2 separate regions of the Homo sapiens genome follow, and region 1 is linked to region 2. Evidence: promoter capture Hi-C in 16 types of primary human blood cells and fetal thymus (Javierre and others, 2016). All regions are on one chromosome and are shown on one strand. Each heading gives the region's core, a stretch centred on a gene start or on the middle of the fragment in contact. The rest is flanking DNA. Distances are from core to core; before and after follow the strand shown. Region 1 overlaps FNDC3B (fibronectin type III domain containing 3B). Region 2 holds the start of PLD1 (phospholipase D1).

Region 1 (3,139 bases), core at 397-2,896, 260 kb after region 2:
ATAGGGTACATCTTGGACTCAAGAATTATGATATCAAAATAAGACCCTTGGCTATTTCCGGAGTGTGTTAGCCAATCTACCCTGTGGTTTTCTTTCTCTGGAATTGGTGAAGAAAGAGATAAACAAGATCCAAAACCAGGTCGCATGAAAGGATCAACACTCCCCTGGACATACAGTTGTTTGGGATAATCGTAAATCCTGCTGTCTGTAGTGGCTGACGAGGGGAGAAGAGCAGAATCCTAGCACTCCGGCTACTGACTGTGAAACTAATGTATCTTTGCTATCACATATTTAGCATTTACCTTTTACTTTAAGCCAAAAACACCTTACACTTTTCTTAGATGAGCTTTTTAAAAACATTGTAATTTATGAAAAAAATTTGAACATAGACAAAAGTAGAGAATAGTAGTGGATCCCCCTGGACTTATTACCCAGCCTTGACAATCAATCAGCTCGTGCCAGTCTTGTTTCATCTTTACCCGTTTTCATTCTCTGCTCCTTGCTGTAATATTCTGAAGCAAATCTCAGGCATATTATTTCATCCTTCAATATTTCAGTATTTTTTTCAGATAAGTTCTTTCGGAAATATATTTTCATCTAATTTAAAACAAAAAGTTTTCAGGAAAAATACAGGCATTTTTGCTGCAAAAATTGGTCAGGATTATGCAATTTCTAACTAATCAGCATTTTTCAAGGTTACTGGTTTTGGCTGACAAAATTTTTTTTCTTATATGTGGAAAAAATTATTCACAGTAACAAATGCGTGTTTTGATAGTGCTAAAAATTAGTCTATTTTTCAGACTTAATTATTCAATTAAAAAATAAGACACTTCATAAACTTTAAAACTATTGTGTAGAAACACACTGTTCTTCAGTTTTATGTGTTTTCAGTCATTATATTTCCCAGCTATTTCAAATAGGCTAAATATAGTATACCCTAAGCTTACTCAATCGTTAGTTTAGACTCAACTAATTTGGAATTTTCATTGAGTTGGATATAACTTTAATAGCAGGTTTCCATTCAAGCAAAGTATTTGCTAATTGCAGGTGATTATTAAGGCAAAGTCTTAAGGATTTATAGAATAAGTAAATGGTTTTATGGGCTCATGGATCTTTAGGTATATATATATTTATACACCTTAATGGTATGAATTTAGCCTGACTTGGAAAAACTAACCTGGTTTATATGTGTATATAGTCCATTAATTGATTCACTAAAATTTTTATTTTGTTAAAAATAGTGAAATAAAATCAGAATTAATTTTTTTTTATTCTCTGTGAAGAGTCTTATGAAAGGTGGTCAGATTTATAAGTCAGATTGTGGCTAGTGAATCTTAGTTTTTCTCTCAAATACCTCAAGACAGCATGGAGGCTGGTTGTCACACACATTCAAAGGAACAAAATACTTATTAGCTAAAAAAGGGTATGCACATTTTTGGGGGCTTTGAAGCATATTGTAGGGCTTAGTAATAATGACAGTGAAAATTAACATAGCGAGCACTTCCGTATGAAGTCATTTTCTCATTACCATGGTCTTACGAGGATAGATGTTGTATTTATCCTTGTTTTACAGATAGAAACTGAGACATGGAGAGTGAAGTAACTGGCTCCAATCCCAGTGCTAAGTGGTCAAGCCAGGGTCAGAATTGTAACAGTTGAGTTCATGAGTACTGGCCCTTAACAACTCTGCTGGAGTGCCTCCTTTGGTTAAATACTAGTAGTTCATATGTCGGAAACTCATCCTTCATTTTCTTCAATGAAAATACGGCATTTTACAGCAGTGCTGTCCAATAGAATTGTTGAAATTATGGAAATACCCGCGTTATCTAGTATGCGTATGCCCATTAGTCACATGTGGCTGTTGATTACTCAAATGTGGCTAGTGTGACTGAGAAATAGAATTCAAGGTTTTATTTAATTTTAAGTAATTTAAATTTAAATAGTTACATGTAGCTAGTGGTTCTAGTACTGGACAGAGAGGCTATAGAGTTTGAGAGACCTGGGAGAATTTGTAGTTTGCGTTTCCTGGGGTAATGACAATATCTTGGCATTTTGTGGCTATCAGTATCTTGACCTCGTTAGGGTTGTCAGTGAATGGTTGTGTCATGAAATAGTAATAATGTTAATAAAGGTGAAATTTTTACAAAGTGGATAATTGAATGTTTAAAACTGTGATGCCTAACAACAAAATCCTGTTTGATCACCAACCTGGGAAATCCACAGTCTACCGCATCTGGAGGCATCCTCTTGTTAATTCCTTTGTAGCCAAGCAAAAACTGCTTTGACATTCCCGCATGATTTTCAGCCTTGTAGATGAGTTCTTGCTTTGTAAAGAGTCCAGCTTCTTGGTCAAGCTTAACATTAGGCGTGATGATAAGATAGTAAAATGGACTTTGTGGGCCAAAAGCAGCCATTAAGAAGCAAGTGTTTAACTCTTTATCTTTCTCCTACAGCCTGATGTTGACAGAGCTCCCATCTATGAAAATACATCAAGAAAACTCAGTGGTAATGAAGCTAGATTTCATTTCAAATGACACTGAGGCCACATAAACGGTGACACTGATGCCTCTTATGATGTGCTTTCATCTAAGCCTTTATGTGGCACTTAAGTCTAATTATTTTAATTTTTTCTTTGTGTTGATGAAAAGGGCCGGAGTAGTTGTTTCCACCAGCCATGGTGGGGCTCTGAAATGGAAGCAAGCAAAGCCTCCAGATGGTGGCAGGTATTGGACCATAGCCACCCTGCAGACATAATTAAACATGTCTGCAGCCCTCTCATTTAGCAGTTATAACACAGACATTTTCTTTGTTGATGGGATTGAACTGTTATTGTTAGCATTTATGTGAAGGACTTGCAGTACTATAGCCAGGTGCTATTTCTCAGCTACTGTGTTAAACACTGGGCCTGGAACTCTGCTTTGAAAGGTTTGGAGAGAAGGTTCCTCCCAACATTGGGAATGAACATGGTGGTTGGGGTGTTTTCAGCAGGTCCTGTTTGCCCACTTTCCATTTGTAATTCTCAAGTGTAACAGTTCGAATGTAGAGACTGGCTGTGAAAGTGGATTGGGATTTTAAGACAAAAAGTATTGGACAGCAGGTGAAACACACTTCGTTCCTGGCTGCAGTACCAGCTTCTGTC
Region 2 (3,188 bases), core at 428-2,927:
TAGCATTCAATTTTTTTTTTTTTTTTTTTTTTTTTTTGAGACAGATTCTTGCCCTGTCGCCCAGGCTGGCGTGCAATGGCTCCATCTCGGCTCACTGCAACCTCCGCCTCCCGGGTTCAAGCGATTCTCCTGCCTCAGCCTCCCGAGTGGCTGGGATTACAGGCGTGTGCCACCACGCCTGGCTAATTTTTGTATTTTTAGTAGAGGCGGGGTTTCACCATGTTGGCCAGGCTGGTCTCAAACTCCTGACCTCAGGTGATCTGCCCGCCTCAGCCTCCCAAAGTGCTGGGATTACAGGCGTGAGTCACCGCGCCCAGGCAGCACTCCAACTTTTTATATGGATTGTTAACTGTACTGGTTCTTGAGAAGCCAGACTGAGCGCTTATACAATTAGTCCAAAGATCCCCAAACAACATTTAAAGGCTGTCTACAAATTCAAGCTAAAAGACTGTGTACAAATTCATTTGTGTGTCACAAAACATTTAATACTGAAAGAGATTCTTATTCAAATAGGCAGTGTGTAAATGTGGGGTCTGTTAACAGTTCAAATTGCAGATTCCTTTCCTTCTTTAAGTTTTCATTGCACCACCACGAACTAAACCATTTAACATACCTCAGAGGTCTCTGGGTACCTAGTCTCTCAGAGGCCTTTGGAGGCCCACGAAGGCTTATCTTAACTAAAATTGGCAGGGCTGGCTGATAAAGTTAACGGAACTCCCCATTTTGGAGGCAGACTTAGTAATGGTCAAACGAAGAAACTGTTGTGGTCTGTTCTTAAAAAGCTACTAGTATTTAGTGCTTCACAGAGGAAGTAAAGAAAGCAATAATCCGAGATGAGGAGGAGCAAATACAGGCGTGGCGGTAGTTCAGGACTGAGTCTACAAGGGCGGTTCTCAAGGGCGTCACAAAATCCTATGGAAGGCTTGGAGGACGGCACTCCTGGATCTGAGCCCTACGTCCCAAACACCTTCAATCGTATTGTGAGGAAGAAGACCTTTTACACACTCCCTGCTGCTGGCCCCCGGCCCCCTCGCCCCACCTCCGAGTGGTCACATCACACGGCGGGAGCCGCGGTCAGCAGCTGTGATCACACCCCCAGGACCGTGCTCTGCGGGCTGGGCTCGAAGCCTTGGGACGCGGCACTTCCTGGTTGGTACGGGATGCCGGTCCCATCGCCCCCACCAGCCCAGTCATGCCACCGCGCACCCGAACCAAGGGCGCCCGGATGACCTGGGGACACCACACACACTGCACCCGAAGCCCTGTGGCGGCGAGGCGGTGCATCCTGCAGAGGACGCCTGGGCTTCAGCCTGAGCCTGCGCGGCTCTGCGCTCCAGGCAGCCGCCCGCGCGGCAAAAGTGCGTGCCAGAGTTGTCAGCTTTCACCCTGCAGGAATTCCACCCGAAGGCGTGCGAGGGAGGCCCTTGGGGATCGCTAGGGAGTCCGCCGCCGACTCACTCGCTGAAATCCCGTCCAAGTTGGGCGGGGAGCGGCCAGCTGCCCAGGTTGGGCGGAGGAGGGACGGAGGGCGAGGGCAGTGGAAACCCGGCTCCCACGGGCGCCCGGTGATCCGGGTCTCGGCGCGGCTCCTACCTGCAGGGCGAAGGGGCCGCTAGCACCTGCGCGTTGGCGGCGGACTCTCAGGGCTCGGGTGCCTCTGGCACAGCTGGAGCTCAGCGGGAGGGAGGGAGAGAGGGCGGGCCGGAGGGGGCTCTGCGCTGCGCGGCCGGCAGGAACTCTCCGCCCGGATTCGCCCCGGATTCGCAGGGGTGGAGCGAGGCGGTGCCAGGTCCCGGGGCGTCGCGGTGCCGGCTGGAGGCCCCAGCGGGGCAGGTCTCGCGACTGGGCCTCTGATCGCCCGCGTTCCTTGTTCTCTTTTCCCAAAGTTTCATAACTCGACCGCATCACCCTAGGGAATGCTCGCTATTAGGACCATTATCAGGTCCTCTCGAGCCGCCAAGGACCAGCCACCTTTCCCGGAGCTTTGCCTATGATATCTATTCTTCGACTACTGCGGATAGTAGCCACAACTGGTCCAACTTATAAGTAAGGAATCAGCAAATCAAACGGCTAAATAACTTGCCTGAGGTGACATAATTAAGAGACTGGAGCTTTGCTGGAGTCTTTATAAGCCTTCTTGCACCTCCTTAGGGAAGTGTTATCGCCAATTTACAGGTAAGGAAATGAAGGCTCAGAACCAGCCCGAGGTCACACAGCTTAGATGGAGGGGGACGGGAATTTGTGTCCCGATGTCTCTAAAACTGGTTATAATTCAGAAATCTTAGCATAAAATAATAAATTGGGAGCAAAACAGGGAAAAGACCCATTCCACCTATGGAACCGTTCAAACACGGCAATTTTGCTGTTTTCAGTCCACTTAGAATAAAGTCTTAAGAAAAAGAGAACCAGTTGTCATGTGGCTTGAATAGCAGCCCTTTGGGAATGTAATTTTGAATATAGGCCAGTTCCAACCTCATTACACGATATTGCATCCCGCCAAAGCCAGGGGAAGCAATGGCCTCCCCATGCACCAAACTGCTAATAACGTCAGCCACTTTAAAGCATTTAGTGGATATTACACAACTGCGACTGACCAAGTTACATAATGTCTTACTGCACACATGGCATTGCATGAAATGAAAAATATAATATACCAGTCCAAATTAGGGGAGGGGGGCCAAATTATAGTCTGGAACTCAGTTTTCCTGTAACCTACAGTTGCTCAGCCCTCCTTAGACCACATTTTTGTCTCTTGAGCACATCTTTTCCTAATGATAGAAGAGTCACACAGCCCTCACTCTTTCCTTGTTGACATAAATGATTGATGTCTTTTGAATCCTATGATACTGACAGATTTTTACAATTAAACACATGACTCTCTGAGCAGAGTATTGCCTAAGAGGAGTTTAGTAAGTTTCAGACAAGCATGTTACTGGAAGGCAGAATACCCTCTCTCCTCCCCTCTTTCTCAAGCTTTATTAGTCACAGATGGTCTGATAAGTCTTGTGCACACACGTAACTGCATTCTTACAAGCTTGTCTTTAGAAATTATAATGCTTTTGGTTGAGAAGCAGCAGTCTATAAAATTGCATCCCAAATTCTTAAGTGTCACTATGAAAACATTTGGCACTTGCCTCCAACAATAGGTCTTTCTACTAAATCTAATTAGAAATAAAATTATCAAGGCC

What was found. The method cuts DNA at HindIII sites, captures the fragments that hold promoters and counts their contacts. A CHiCAGO score of 5 or more calls a contact.
Region 1: a contact is called between a fragment that was not itself captured here and the fragment with the promoter of PLD1 in region 2, in 3 of 17 cell types (M1 macrophages, neutrophils and M0 macrophages). The highest score is 7.3, in M1 macrophages.

Annotation. Positions count from the first base shown.
Region 1 is chr3:172,070,319-172,073,457 of GRCh38, forward strand. The region is part of intron 1 of FNDC3B (fibronectin type III domain containing 3B); the gene reads left to right. Among named protein-coding and RNA genes, the nearest start is that of FNDC3B, 32 kb to the left of the region's middle. The HindIII fragment of the contact is 1,412 bases long and covers 941-2,352 here.
Region 2 is chr3:171,808,806-171,811,993 of GRCh38, forward strand. PLD1 (phospholipase D1) reads right to left here and starts at 1,678. Exons shown (of 27, transcript NM_002662.5): 1 at 1,594-1,678. The HindIII fragment of the contact is 4,859 bases long and covers 1-2,971 here.